Regions from separate parts of the Homo sapiens genome. Here regions 1, 2, 3 and 5 are each linked to region 4. The links are contacts of gene promoters, found by promoter capture Hi-C in blood cells and fetal thymus (Javierre and others, 2016). All regions are on one chromosome and are shown on one strand. Each heading gives the region's core, a stretch centred on a gene start or on the middle of the fragment in contact. The rest is flanking DNA. Distances are from core to core; before and after follow the strand shown. Region 1 overlaps LOC105370003 (a long non-coding RNA gene). Region 2 has its middle 110 kb from the start of LINC02463. Region 3 overlaps LOC105370003 (a long non-coding RNA gene). Region 4 holds the start of TBX3 (T-box transcription factor 3). Region 5 has its middle 89 kb from the start of LINC02463.

The links. The method cuts DNA at HindIII sites, captures the fragments that hold promoters and counts their contacts. A CHiCAGO score of 5 or more calls a contact.
Region 1: a contact is called between a fragment that was not itself captured here and the fragment with the promoter of TBX3 in region 4, in 2 of 17 cell types (M0 macrophages and M2 macrophages). The highest score is 7.4, in M0 macrophages.
Region 2: a fragment that was not itself captured here is called in contact with the fragment with the promoter of TBX3 in region 4 in 1 of 17 cell types (M2 macrophages); the score reaches 6.2 in M2 macrophages.
Region 3: a contact is called between a fragment that was not itself captured here and the fragment with the promoter of TBX3 in region 4, in 8 of 17 cell types (M2 macrophages, endothelial precursors, M1 macrophages and 5 more). The highest score is 21.9, in M2 macrophages.
Region 5: a fragment that was not itself captured here is called in contact with the fragment with the promoter of TBX3 in region 4 in 1 of 17 cell types (total B cells); the score reaches 5.4 in total B cells.

The regions. Positions count from the first base shown.
Region 1 is chr12:115,734,507-115,737,206 of GRCh38, forward strand. The region is part of intron 1 of LOC105370003 (a long non-coding RNA gene); the gene reads right to left. Among named protein-coding and RNA genes, the nearest start is that of LINC02463, 150 kb to the right of the region's middle. The HindIII fragment of the contact is 5,033 bases long and covers 1-2,700 here.
Region 2 is chr12:115,776,440-115,779,139 of GRCh38, forward strand. No RefSeq gene overlaps it. Among named protein-coding and RNA genes, the nearest start is that of LINC02463, 110 kb to the right of the region's middle. The HindIII fragment of the contact is 8,845 bases long and covers 1-2,700 here.
Region 3 is chr12:115,753,764-115,756,463 of GRCh38, forward strand. All of the region lies in intron 1 of LOC105370003 (a long non-coding RNA gene), which reads right to left. Among named protein-coding and RNA genes, the nearest start is that of LINC02463, 130 kb to the right of the region's middle. The HindIII fragment of the contact is 1,630 bases long and covers 611-2,240 here.
Region 4 is chr12:114,682,770-114,685,469 of GRCh38, forward strand. TBX3 (T-box transcription factor 3) reads right to left here and starts at 1,406. Exons shown (of 7, transcript NM_005996.4): 1 at 43-1,406. The coding sequence starts at 431. The region is part of intron 1 of TBX3-AS1 (TBX3 antisense RNA 1); the gene reads left to right. RefSeq lists a promoter at 1,408-1,917. The HindIII fragment of the contact is 4,535 bases long and covers 1-2,700 here.
Region 5 is chr12:115,795,434-115,798,133 of GRCh38, forward strand. No RefSeq gene overlaps it. Among named protein-coding and RNA genes, the nearest start is that of LINC02463, 89 kb to the right of the region's middle. The HindIII fragment of the contact is 2,573 bases long and covers 104-2,676 here.

The sequences.
Region 1 (2,700 bases), core at 172-2,671, 1.1 Mb after region 4:
AAAAAAAGGTATGATATTGGTATTCCCCTTATACAGTTGATTTCATGGGAGTTTGATGGTTCCAAGGCTTTTCTAACAGTCACAAAATTACTTTTGATAAGTGTTTTGACAGGTGCCCTCCCCTCACCCTCCAGCAAGTGTTTTTAACCTGAGATCTGCAAAACCACAAGAGGCCAGGGTTGAAACTCAATGGCTCTGTGATTTTTTTTATCCAAAAAAAAACCAAAAAAAAACAAAAAAACAAAAAACAAAAAAACTATATCTTTATTTTTCTTAACCTCTAACCAAAATTAGCATTTCCATCAATAATGAAGGTAGATAGCAAATCACAATGGTATTAATGGTCCCTGTGAATTTGCCATCCGTAGAAACCATAAATATTTTTATGTTGCATTTCAATTGTCAGAGAAACCTCAAAATAACATGTGCGCTCATCACCATTTTGAGTTATCCTAATCATCAGATGAATTAGACTAGACCTAGTTACTTGATGAATTAACTTAAAAACACATATTTTTATAACTTATAGTTGTGGCATTGTGGTTTCTTTAATCTTACTACAGCATTTAAATATAGTCATGCATTGCTTAATGATGGGGATCTGTTCTGAAAAATGTATCTAGGCAGTTGTGACATTGTGCAAACATCACAGAGTACGCTGACACAAACCTAGACGGGACAGCCTACTACACACCTAGGCTGTAGAGTATAGCCTATTGCTCCTAGGCTACAAACCTGTACAGCATGTTACTGTACTGAATACTATAGGCAATTGTAACACAAAAGGGAAGTATTTGTATATCTAAACATAGAAAAGGAATTTTTATACTGTAATAAAATTACAGTATAAAAGGAATAAATAAAAGGAATTTTATACTGTAATAAAATTACAGTATAAAAGACGTATGATTTATAATCCTTTGGGTATATACCCAGTAATGGGATTGCTGGGTCAAATGGTATTTCTAGTTCTAGACTGGACAAAGAAAATGTGGCATATATACACCATGGAATACTATGCAGCCATAAAAAAGGATGAGTTCATGTCCTTTGCAGGACATGGATGAAGCTGGAAACCATCATTCTCAGCAAACTGTCACAAGAACAGAAAATCAAACACTGAATGTTCTCACTCATAAGTGGGAGTTGAACAATGAGAACACATGGACACAGGGAGGGGAACATCACACACCAGGGCCTGTCAGCGGGTGGGAGGCTAGGGGAGGGATAGCATTAGGAGAAATACCTCATGTAGTGATGGGTTGATGGGTGCAGCAAACCACCATGGCACGTGTATACCTATGTAACAAAACTGCACGTTCTGCACATGTACCCCAGAACTTAAAGTAAAATAAAAAAAATTTTTTTGAGATATAAACTTATATACCTGTATAGGGCGCTTACCATGAATGGAGCTTGCAGGACTGGAAGTTGCTCTGGGTGAGTCAGTGAGTGAGTGGTGAGTGAATGTGAAGGCCTAGGATATTACCGTGCTCTACTGCAGACCTTATAAACACAGTACACTTAGGCTATGCTAAATTTATTTTTAAATTTCTCCTTTCTTAAATAATAAATTAACCTTAGCTTATTAGATGACCTCCACAGTATATTTGGTCCATTGTTGACTGAAGGTCTTTATGCAGCACATGATCGTATAATTGATATCCTTTGTAATTCTATGTATATGCTATGCATTTAGAAATAGTTTCTCCAAACTACAAAAGGGGTTCATCATACATCGAAAGTTAAGAGTCCTGCCATATAGTAAAGATTTTCTTATGCTCTGCCTCCCCACTTATAAACCACCCTTGCTTGGTCCACACTCTTTGTTCTGCCTCTCTTCCAAGAAGTGAGTGGTCTACAAAGGCCCTAATGACTGCAGCCATGGGATCTGGTCAACTCCAGTTTAGCTCCCCCAGTCAGCTGTTAATTATGTTCCTACTTTGTCCCAGGCTCTGTGCTAGGGACATATAAATATCTATGTATATATTACCTTTAATCTTCACTAGATGGCACATGTTATCTACATTTTCTAAAACTAGGAGTTTAAAGTTCAGAGAGATAAAGAAATGTACCTAAGTGCAGATGCCAAGTAGTTGTGCAGCTGATGTTCCCTAAATTTGCCCATTTGATCTTTGCAGCATTGGCGAATTGGCAGCAGCATAATCACATGGGCCTAAAATTAAAAAGGGAAATGGCTCCGCTTTCTCCATCCCCTACCATTAGAATCCGCTTAAACCCAACCTGAAGGGATAAAGAAAGAACTCCATACAAACAGCACTCACTTGGGACCACCTCTCTTAAGTTAGATTTTTTTATACCCACCTTCTTGGATAAGGTATCCCAACTCAGCCAGTTATCCAGATGTCAAAGTCAGAAACCTAAGAATTATTCTTGACATCTCCCTCTTCCTTAGCCCTCACATGCTCTATCCCAAGTCTTTGCCATCTACTTCATTTCTGACATCCACTCACTTCCCCCTCATCCACTTAATCCAAGCTACCACGCTCCTATGCCTGGACTATTGCAATGTCCTTTCCCCAAAACTGGCCTTCCAGCTTCCATTCATGTTCCAGTCTAGTCTCCACCCCACCACTCAAGTGCTCTATCTGATCACGTCAGATACTTAGTGTGGTTATGTGATAAATGTCTGAGCCCCTGGATTCTACGGTGCCTGAAGCCAGATACCTTTGGGTGTTT
Region 2 (2,700 bases), core at 72-2,571, 1.1 Mb after region 4:
TACCCATTATGGGGCCAGTAACATGGCAGTCTAGCAGGAATACATGGGAAAGGGCTGGCAAGCCGAAGCACTCACCATCTTTCTTTTTCTTTCCTTTTTCTTTTTCCCTCTTTTTCTTTTTCTTATCTGTTTCCTTTTCCTTTCACTTTCATTCTTTTCCTTTTTTTCTTTCCTTCTTTTTCATTTCCTTTTTGCCTTCCCTTCCTCCCTCCTCCTTATCCTTCCTTCTTTCCTTTTTTTCTTCTTTGTTTTATGTGTTTTTCAACATTTACTGCACACCTCTTTTGTACCAAACCCATATTAAGCATCAAATAAAGCATGGTCTCAACCCACTATGCATGGTGGCTCACACCTGTAGTCCCAGCAATTTGGGGGGCTGAAGCAGGAGGATCGCTTGAGCCCAGAAGTTCGAGACCAACTTGGGCAATATAGCAAGACCCTGTCTCTACAACAATAAAAATTTAAAAAATAGCCAGGCATGGTGGTGCACACCTATAGTCCTAGCTACTTGGGAGACTGAGGCCAAAAGATCACTTGCGCCCAGGAGTTCAAAGTTGCAGTGAGCTATGATTGTCCCACTGCACTCCAGCCTGGGAAACAAAGCACGATTTTGACTCTACAAAAAAGAAAATGGTCACAATATATTTCACCAAGGATAGAAAAGGAATACTAATAGAGCATGCAATGACATGACAGCAGGAAAATTACAGCTGGGAGGATCTGTGAGCATGGAGCACTTCCTGTTTATGCTGGAGCCCCAATAACTGTTACCTGTACATTTTGATGGTATATCCAATCAGTGAAATAGTTTTACTATGCACCCATACTACACATATGCTTAGTTTATAAATGATATATTTGTGCAAACCCACAATCCTTTATTCAAAACTCTTGGGTCCAGAGGTGCTTCAGAAATGAGAATTGTTTTGGATTTTAGGAAGAGAAGCTGGTGTGTATATTGAATATTAGTTAACATCCCCATGGAGATATGGGTTAGCACTCTAAACACACACAGAGAAAGAGACAAATATGATCAGTTACTCTAAAGAGAATAAATACTCTCAATGTCCTCATATCTATTCAGATCAGGTATTGCCAAATAAGTGTATCTCAAACTTACCACAAAAACTTAACTTTCAGCGGTTTATAGATTTTAGGTTTACAGACAATGGATTGTGGACCTGTGCTTCTATTATTGGTTAATGTCCCAAAGTATGCTATGTACTGTAGGTAAGATTTATCTTTAGGAATTGTGGCTATAAACCCATATTTCAAATGGTCTTCTTGATAATTTTTAAGATTTTGTCCAGGCCTTAAACTAGGCATTAGAGACATGTCAGTTCTGCCATGTTATTTGTTTGCATTTATGTATCGTCCTGGTTTTACTTCTTCTTTGTTTGTAAGTACTTTCTTGTTTGCAATAGTATCTTTTTAAACGACTTTCAATACTCAGTTATTTTACAGGCATCTTTTCTAAGTTATGATGCCATAGGTTGTTTAGCTGTGGGCACTAAATGCATATCAGCACCCATCAGCTGACATTAGCTCCAGAGGTGACAACCAGCTGAGGAAACACTTTAGAGATGTGATCCCCCTCCCCAACTCTCCTTCCCAAACCAGGCAAGTAGGCAGAGCTTGCAAGGAGGGGGCTCAGCAGGCTCATGTTCAAATCCTGGCTCCACTGCTTGTTAGCAATGTGATCTTGGGTGACTTACTTCACCCCCTGTGCCTCAGTTTTACCATCTGTAAAACGGGGATAGCAGGAGTACCTACCTCAGAGGGTTGTTGCTAGGACTCAGTGAGACCGTGGCCAGAACACCTGGCAGAGAGTAAGTGCTCAATGCACAACAGCAGACTCTACTATTGTCATGCACTTTATCCAGTTGTTTCTGACTGCTTTTGAGGAATGCTTCCTCCACTTTTAGTGTCTTCTTAAGTCACGTTAAGGGCTACCCAGCAAAACCCACTTGATTTAGAGAAGAGCAAACTGAAGTTCCAAGAAGGTGAGTCATTATGGGGAGATGGCAGAAGGGGAAGGTGATGGTTTCCATGCCATTACCTTTTCCACTGATGAATTCTGAATACCAGCAAAATTCAATCAGAACACTTCATAGATTCTACTCTCCATCTGCCTTAGTCAGAACTGTTTTTGTGGAAGTAACAGAAGTCCAACTCAAACTGGCTTAAGCAAAAAAAGCAGAACCTATTAGCTCAATTACCTGAAAAGTCTAGGAGCAGACAGGATTCAGGCATGGCTGGATCCAGGGGCTCAAGTGAAATCATTAGATTATGATACCTCCTCCACTGCCCCCTTATCTTGGAGTCCTATTTTTATTCATCCTCAAGAAAATTCTCTCTGCAGCTCTTATAGTAGCTCTAGCCTTATGTCCTCTCAGATCCAACTCTTCTAAACAGAGAGCACTTCTTTGCCAACAGTTCCACAGGTCCTAGGATGCAATCTCAGTAGACTGGGATGTTAAGTTATGACTGGCCCTATAAAGCAGGCCTCACAGCAAAGATGTAGATAAGGAGACATGACCCCAGTGCTGTGTTCAAGGCCTAGAATGTCAGGGCTTGTGGATGTGGCTTCTGAGTTACAGAATTACTGCCTTATGTGTAATAAATCCTGATCCTGACTGCTGACTTGGTAGACTATAAAAGACAGCAAGTCTGTTCTTCTCAACTTTGACACGGCAAACA
Region 3 (2,700 bases), core at 176-2,675, 1.1 Mb after region 4:
AAATAAAATAAAATAGAAGAAACTGAAATGAATGAGTGCGCTGCCAAAGGAGCAAGAATTCAGCTCATTCAGGTATATTTCAAGATCAGGTTGATAGGCGTTTCCCATGAAAATAAGCATTTCTACTTAAGATCAAATGGACTCATTTCTTTTTTCCAGGCTATTACATTTTTTGTTGTCCTTTAAAACCAGAGGAAACACTGGGAGTTCTCCTTTTTAAATAACTGTGCCATCTCTTAGAGAGAAAATGGAAAATCCCATAGTTAGATGTCCTTCTTTAGGGTTTATTTTGCCTCTATTACTTCAGGTTTCAAATTAGACAGTAAATTTGCCAAAATCAATAGAGAGAAGAAAGATGTCTTTCTTTAGAAGAACGGATGACATGTTTTTATTTGTAATATTCTCAGGAAGTATGTCGATAACATGCAAAAATCAAATACTCTCTTTCCAACTGCACCATGTAGGAGTTTTCCTAGATGGCCATCTACGTAAATTTTGACAAATATATGAAAAGTAATACACATTGCATATATACACGTGCATGTTTTGATCTGTTATCCTCAAAAGCACCCACCCTGAAGAAGACACATTCACTAGTCGGATGTGTATAAGCTTTCTACACTGAACAAGTCTTTGGGATTCTAATAGTTTCTTTTGTTTGTACTTTGCTCAGACTTTCAGAGGCATCTACAAATTCCAGATCTTTCTTCAAGGGGAGGACTTGGTTAATATTTCCTAGTATTTTCAGCCCCTTCGTTGATTTCCTTCCTTTCTAGTATTTTTAGTTCCTGAGATAAAACCTCATTTATAATAAAGTCAAAATCCCTGGAAAACATTTCGTCAATGAAACATCCAGCTTTGCTATTCATTATTTCATTGAATGAATGTTTTTTCCTTGAAACCTGATGGCCCAACTCTGATTATTTAAAGGCAGACACAAAACTAGAATTGTGTCTAGTTTTTTAATATTTAATACGTAAAACTCTTCTTTAAAATATTTGTACTTTGCCATAAAATGGCCTATTCAAAGGCACAAATTTGCTAGGACCAAATCATTCAATTTAGGAATAATCGTATGTCAGCACCAGACCCAATGTTGGCAGATCCTATTTAATTTATCTCTCAGCCTCTTTTTTTTTTTTTTTTTTTATCATTGCAGGTTATTCATGATCCCTAGTCTAAAATGTTGAAATTTCAAAGCATGACTGAAAACATTTTAAATGAAGACTAGTCAAATAAGAAGCACTATTTCTTTATAGGGTCCTTTCATTATTTCCCCCAGAAATTTGGGGAGGTTTCTGCAATCACCATACATTCGAAATACCAGCTGCTAATTTCCACATAATTTTCTGCCCTGTTTAAAAAGGATTTTTTTGTTGTATGGATTTAGTGGGGTTAGGATTGAGATAGCGTGTGTGTTTGCACGCTCGCATGCAGAAAGATAGAGAAAAAGAGAGCGCACATAAGTAGTTTTGCTTTGAAGTCCCTACATAATTACTGTTAAGATCTATCAAAATGTACCGAGACAGCTCTCCTTGCTGAAATCTGATGAACAAAAAGGCAAGCAACGTCCAGGAAGACTGTAAAAGAATGGATCAAATTAAGAGCAAGAACAAATGCAACCAAGGTAGACTGAAAGATGTTGTGGTTTCTGTCGTTGTTTATGTGTAGGGAGGAATTAGAAATGAGAAGGAAAGACAGATGGGGGAAGAAAGCAAGGGAGAGAGAAGTTGAAGGAAGGCAAAATGGAAAAGAAAGAGGAAAACATTTATGGGGGGATGATAAAGAGAAAAGGAAGGAAAGAAGGGAGGGAAGGAGAGAAGGAAGGGAAGAAGAAAGAAAGAGAAACATTTACAGAGTTGTGGGCAGGAGAGCTGTTTTATCTTTGTGTGTTTTCTAATTCAAAGCTGTATGTCCTTGGTGCCGAAATTAAACATTACATATGGAACACAGAAAGAAAAGGGGAGAAAGAGTGGGTTTCCCTTTTTCATTTCCTTTGTTGGAATACTGGTTTGGAACATCTAAAGAGAAAATGGTTGCAATGTTGCAGAATTTTTCTTCTTTCAGTAATGATCAAACTAGCAGCTGCTTTCAGCAAAAGTTCTTAATGTCACAGTGCTCCCTGGAGTATTGCCTAGAAGGGACCCTAACGTCAACCTTTTAACTTCCCTTCCTCACTCTACTTGTTTTTCTTACAATGGGGGGAGGAAGGGATAGGAAAAATTTTAAACAGTCTCAGAAGCTTTTGAAGAGCTGCCACTGGCCAGGGGAAAGGAGGATTTCGAGAAATAACTTCCGATTTATTTCAGATAGTTAGGAGAAGGGGGAAAAGGGAATAAGACCTTTCTCTTCATTTTTGTCTCCCCCCCGCCCTTACCCCCTTAATCCTATTTTAGTTGAGGTCTGACCTTGGAAATTTCCAAAGGACTTTAATCTCCTGTACTTCAAATTGCTAAAGGGAGCTGAAAGAAAGAGTGCTGCATGTGGGTAAAGGTGGTTTAAAATGGTTTATTTATGAATGGTTTAGGCTTTCCTGATAGTAAGAATGTTAACTAGTTCGTTAGGCACTCTCTGTAAATATAAACCTTTTTCAAAAAATTTATTTCCTCCTTTTTTTTTCCTTCAGACAAAATGCATTCAATCATTAAACCTCAGCGGAGAAAAATGATCTTAAGCCTCCTGCCCCTGGGCAGATCTGAC
Region 4 (2,700 bases), core at 156-2,655:
AAACTCTCCAACAGCTTAGGGGAGGAGGCCCCCACTGCTTACCTTCCCGACTTGGTAATGACCATCTCGGTGCCCCGCTTGTGAAACTGATCCCAAAGTTCTTTAGCCTCCAGGTGCACCTTGGGGTCGTCCTCCACCTCTTCTTCGGGCTCCATGGTCTTCAAAGGCCTCAGATGCGCCTGGGGCCCCAGGGAGGAGAACGGGATGCCGGTCTCGGCCGCCCCCACCAATTGATCCATGATCGGCTTGGCCAGGGCGCCCGGCAGCGAGAGCGCCGCCGCGCCGTTGGGAGGCAGCGTCAGCGCGGGGAAGAACGGCGGCTGGTGACCCAGCACCGCGCTCATGGCGAAGTCCGGCGCCCGGTGAGGTAGGAACGGATGGTAGGCCATGCTTGTCCCAGGAATGACCGGATCTCTCATGGAGAGGCTCATCCACTCCAGGCGGGGCGCTGGGCTCCAGCCGGGGACAAGTCCGCAGCTGCTGTGTTTTGTTGTTTTTTTGTTGTTGTTTAACAGCAGCACATAATTCAAAAGGGGGGAAAAAGCAAAACAAAAAAGAAAGAAAAAAGAAAAGGAGGCAGAAATCACAACTAATGCACTTCAAAGGGAGGAGGGGAAGTGTCTTTTGGAGAATGGGAGGCCGCTTTTAAAGAGGGCAAGGCGAAAAATCAGCAAACATAGTCGCGCGGGTGACCGTCCTTGTGCCTTGCGTTTTTAAAAAGCCGCTCCTGAACGTCGGTTTCAGAAGCGAGAGGAGCGAGCAGGGTCTCGACTCGCGCCCGAGCCCTGCCGCTGAGCTCGAAATAGACACTCCAGCCCTGCGTCCCAGGAATCTCTCTCCAGCCCCTAGGTCTTTTGTTGCAAATGTGAAAGGTTCTCCTAGAAGACTTTTTACCTTTCTTTTTCTTCTTCCCCCGCCCCCTATCTGTCTTCCTCTCCCTCTTTCTCGCTGGTGGCGTCTGCAGCTGTGCTAGACCCGGCTTTAACAGGGAGCGAGAGAGCGGAAAAAGTCTCTCTCCTTTAAAAAAAAAAAAATCTGATTTAAACCCCCTTCTACCAGCGCTATCAAAACTTGAATTGCAAACTGGCTTCCGTTCGCCGCCCTCCTCCTCCTTCCTCTGCTCCGAGCCTCCGGAGGGTGTCTCGGTTTCAATCCAAATCTTGCTGGGCTCTTCTCCCGTGCCTCTCTCTCTTCCTTGTCCTAAAACGTGAGCGAATTCGCTTCCTAAATCTGTGTCCAGGCGCGCAGGGCAGGGAGGATTTAGAGGGGGAAAAAATGGAACAGAGGGAAAGAGAGGGAGGGGAGAGAGAGAGAGAGAGAGAGAGACGGAGTCGGAGAGGGAGGGAGCGAGAGAAAGCGAGAGCTCCTCGCCACCCTCCGCCGCCTCTAGAATTCACCGGGCGTCTGCTCGGCGGCTCTAGAAGGTCGGGCTGCGCTGTGGGCTGCGGGGAGCCGGAGGCCTCTTGATTGGCTCTTTGACGCTTTCGGACCAATTGTGTTGCTGCATAGGCGTGGTTTTCACAGGTCGAGTGCTGGGGGATAGAGCTGAGTTATAAAAAGAAGGTGTCGGAAACTGTAACGTCGCAGCGCCGCATCGGTACTACTGCCTGTCCTGTGAATATGTCAACATGATCAGAGGGCGGGCGGGAGCCACTGGGGAGCGCGCGCGCACAGAGTCGCCTCTAGGTGGCTTATCGAGAGATCGCTGCAGCCCCTGAGCTCGCTCGCTCGCTCTGGTTCAGCCCACGTCTGAAATGCCTCAGTCATCCAGCCGGGGATCGAGGGAGGAGGCAGGGCCAAGGAGGAAGGGGGAGGGAGAGAGGGAGGGAGCCAGCGAGCAGGCGAGCCGGGCGGGGAAGGCGGAGAGCGCGCCCGGGCGCCGGGCAGGGGCGCTCGCCTCTCTTGCACTCCGCTCGCCTCTCCGACCGCCGCGGCCGGTTCTCTCTCCAGCTCTCCTTCTTCTCCCCGCCCCGGGCGAGCCGGGCGGGTGGCCGAGCCTCCCCGCGAGCTGCCATCCGGCCACTCGGTTCTACAAAAGCCGGCGGCAGCCGAGAAGCGAGCGCCGAGACTCCAGGCTTGCGTGCTCTCCAGCCCCACGTGGAGCCAAGCTCCGCCCGGCCGCCGCTGAAGGGCTCCCGAGCTCGGGTGTCTCGGTGCTGGTCTCCCCTGCGTCTGGGCTGGGGGAGCACAAGGATGCGGCCATATCTCAGCACACGCATGTGTGGGCTTCCTCTCCACTGCGCCCCACCCGCAGCCATGTGCGGGTACCCAAACACCCCCGGTGTATCTGTACTCGAACACGCGCCAACACACTGGGACTGAAACACACACCGAAAAACACGTACACACAAACACGTACACAGCCTGCGCGGCTGGCCCTGCCTGAGCTCCTGGGGAAGATGGATTTGGGATTTTTATGAAATGCATTTACCAGCCCTTTTGGATCTCGTCTTTCATTTGCATGCGGGCCCCCATATTCCACCTGGATGTGGGTGTGGGTGTAGAGAAGAGAATGGAGGATCTGGACAAAGCGAGCACAGCGAGAGACTGGGTTCTGAGCCTGTCCCCTCCAAGCCGCTGCCCTCACCTCGAGGCCCGGCTGGGTGCACAGCACAGGGTAAGGGGTGGGCGATTGGGTTGGGGGAGGCGCGCCAGCCTGGTATCTTCTCTAGGCATCGCACTTATCTCTCGGTGCCTCAG
Region 5 (2,700 bases), core at 140-2,639, 1.1 Mb after region 4:
TACACGGGGAAGGCTCATTCTGAAATTTAAGTCTGATACTGTTGAAGTATCCCATGTCTTCCTAATTCCCTTGGGAGGTCCAGATTCCTTAGAGCTCCAACAAAGCTTAGGCTCTTCCTGCCTCTCCAGCATCATCTTCCCCAGCCCCCATTCACCTCCAGCCAGGCTGAGAACCAGGGGCCTCCTGTACATGCATGTCCTTATTGTACATGCTGTTCCCCCAGCCTGGCAAGCTCCCACGTGTCCAACTTACCCTCCTCCACCTCCTCCACAAATCCTCAGTTTACCCCCAAATCTAGCTGGGAGTCCCAGCCACAAGCACCCTGAGCATCCTGTCTATAACTCCCTTGCCACTTCCGTCGCATACATTGTATTGTGTTTTGAGGTGTCTCTCTCATCTGCTGGACATGGTACCTCATTCATCCTTGAGTCTCCACCTTTGAGAAAAGATTCTACTCATAGTAGATGCTCAATAACTACTTGTGGCTTGCACAGAAGAACCAGCGACCTGTTTGATTATATGTCATCCTCACTTTAGCCTCTGAAACAAGTGTAGACGTATAATTGCTAGCAGGCTGTAGCAGGCTGGTTCAGCAGACCTGGGTTGGGAACTCTGATCCACCTTTTATCAGCTGTGACATTGGGTAATTCAGTCTTTTGAGTATCAACTTTCCCATCTCTGAAAGTGGTAGTATGCACCACTTCTTATGTCTGTGGTGAGGATTAAATGAGAAATTCTAGTGCATATTCGATGAGGGTTAATCATTATTTTTTATATTCTCTGCAATCAACTAAATGGTTACCATGTCCAGAAAGCTAGGGATTCCTGTCTACGGATTCCCATCTACGGATTCCCTGATGTATCCCAAATGCCTATCACAGTGCCTGGCACATAGCAGGTGCTCAATAAACATTTGCTGAAGAAATAAACAACCTGGTATTTCTAGACTGAGGGAGAAGCTCCCTGTATTCCTAGAATTTTTAGTTTCAACTGTAGAATTCTCAAGATATCATTTCCCCATTCCCAGAGACACTGATTTGGCAGAGTTTGGGTGGAGCCCAGAGACCTGCCTGTGAATGGGTTTCCCATGATCACTCAGTTCTCCATCATTTAGGAACCTTGACACCAGATGATTCAAGTCTCATTACCTCCTCCTTTTCTCACCTCACCACTATCCCTTTCCAGTTGCAGTCATCTAAAAGCCCAATCTTGGTATCAGTAATGATCATTGTGCTGGGGCTAATATTATTTTTGTGAGGCACAGAAACCCAGCAAAGGCTTTTAAGTGAATACTTGGTAATAGAACAATCAAGTTAAAAGATCAGTGTGACACAGAGCATGAAATAGGAAAGTATCGTGGTCAATTGATTTGGACCACACTTACGGGTTTGTGAAATGAATTTCATTTTCTGGACCAAATGGAAGCCCTGCTTATAAATCACTGCCGGTCTTGGAGATTAATAAAGGAAACAGGCTTGATTAAGAATTCAGAGCATTGGTCCCATTGCAGATTTATAGACCCAGAGGTCTTGCCACAGAGATTTCAAGAGGCCCCACCTGTTAAGTGTCATTTAGGAAGATTAACCCCAGGGCTTCTGGCTAAGAATTGAGGACAGGGCCTGAGCCCTGCCTGGGATGGAAGGTAGATTCTAGGAAATGCATTTCTCCATGCTTTTCTAACCCTCCCAGAAAGTTCACAACTCATGTGCCCTTTGATATAACATTGTGTAGAATTTTTCCTAGATTCTGGACAGATGGAAATTTTTATTTAAAACCCCTTCTGCATCTATCTCTACCAAAACTTGGCAGAGCAGAGTTGACTCAAGATTGGAAATTAAAAACAAGACAAATGCAACAGTGCGGGGGTAGTAAAGGCGTTTAATTAAATCAACTAAATGTAAAAGATCTCCATCCATTCTCTGATGCTTGCATAACCCTGCACATGGAGAGGTTTGCATCTAGTGCTGAGACGTTTGGCATTTGAGAATATTTTTGAAATTCCTCATCTGTCAGAAGCTGATGTTGGCCAGGCATGGTGGCTCACACCTCTAATCCCAGCACTTTGGGAGGACAAGGCAGGTGGATCACTTGAGGCCAAGAATTTGAAACCGGCCTGGCCAATATGGAGAAACCCTGTCTCTACTAAAAATACAAAAAATTACCTGGGCGTGGTGGCACTCACCTGTAGTCCCAGCTACTTGAGAGGCTGAGGCACAAGAATCGCTTGAACCCAGGAGGTGGACGTTGCAGTGAGCCGAGATTGCACCACTGCTCTGGGCAACAGAGTAAGACTTTGTCTAAAAAAAAAAAAAAAGAAAGAAAGAAAGCTGATGTTAAAGACCAAAAAGAGAGAGCAGAGCTTGTGAAGCCAGTGTTAGGAGAAGGGACAGGACCACTTTAACAAGTTTGTTGGGACAGAGCCAACTCATGTATTTTGGTGAAATGTCACGGTTTGGGACCCAGTATTTGCAAAAGTGTGCTCTGCAAACCAGAAGTTATGTTATTTTAGCATTCCACTCTATAATATTATTGGCCCTGATGGTTTCAAATCCAGCACAAGTTAGAAGTCAGAATGGTGTTACTAATGTCCAGAAGGGAGCGTGAGGTGGGGTTCTGAGGTGTCGCTAGTGTTCAGCAACTCGATCTGGATACATTCAGTTTGTGAAATTTTATCAAGCTTTACAATGAACATTTTCACT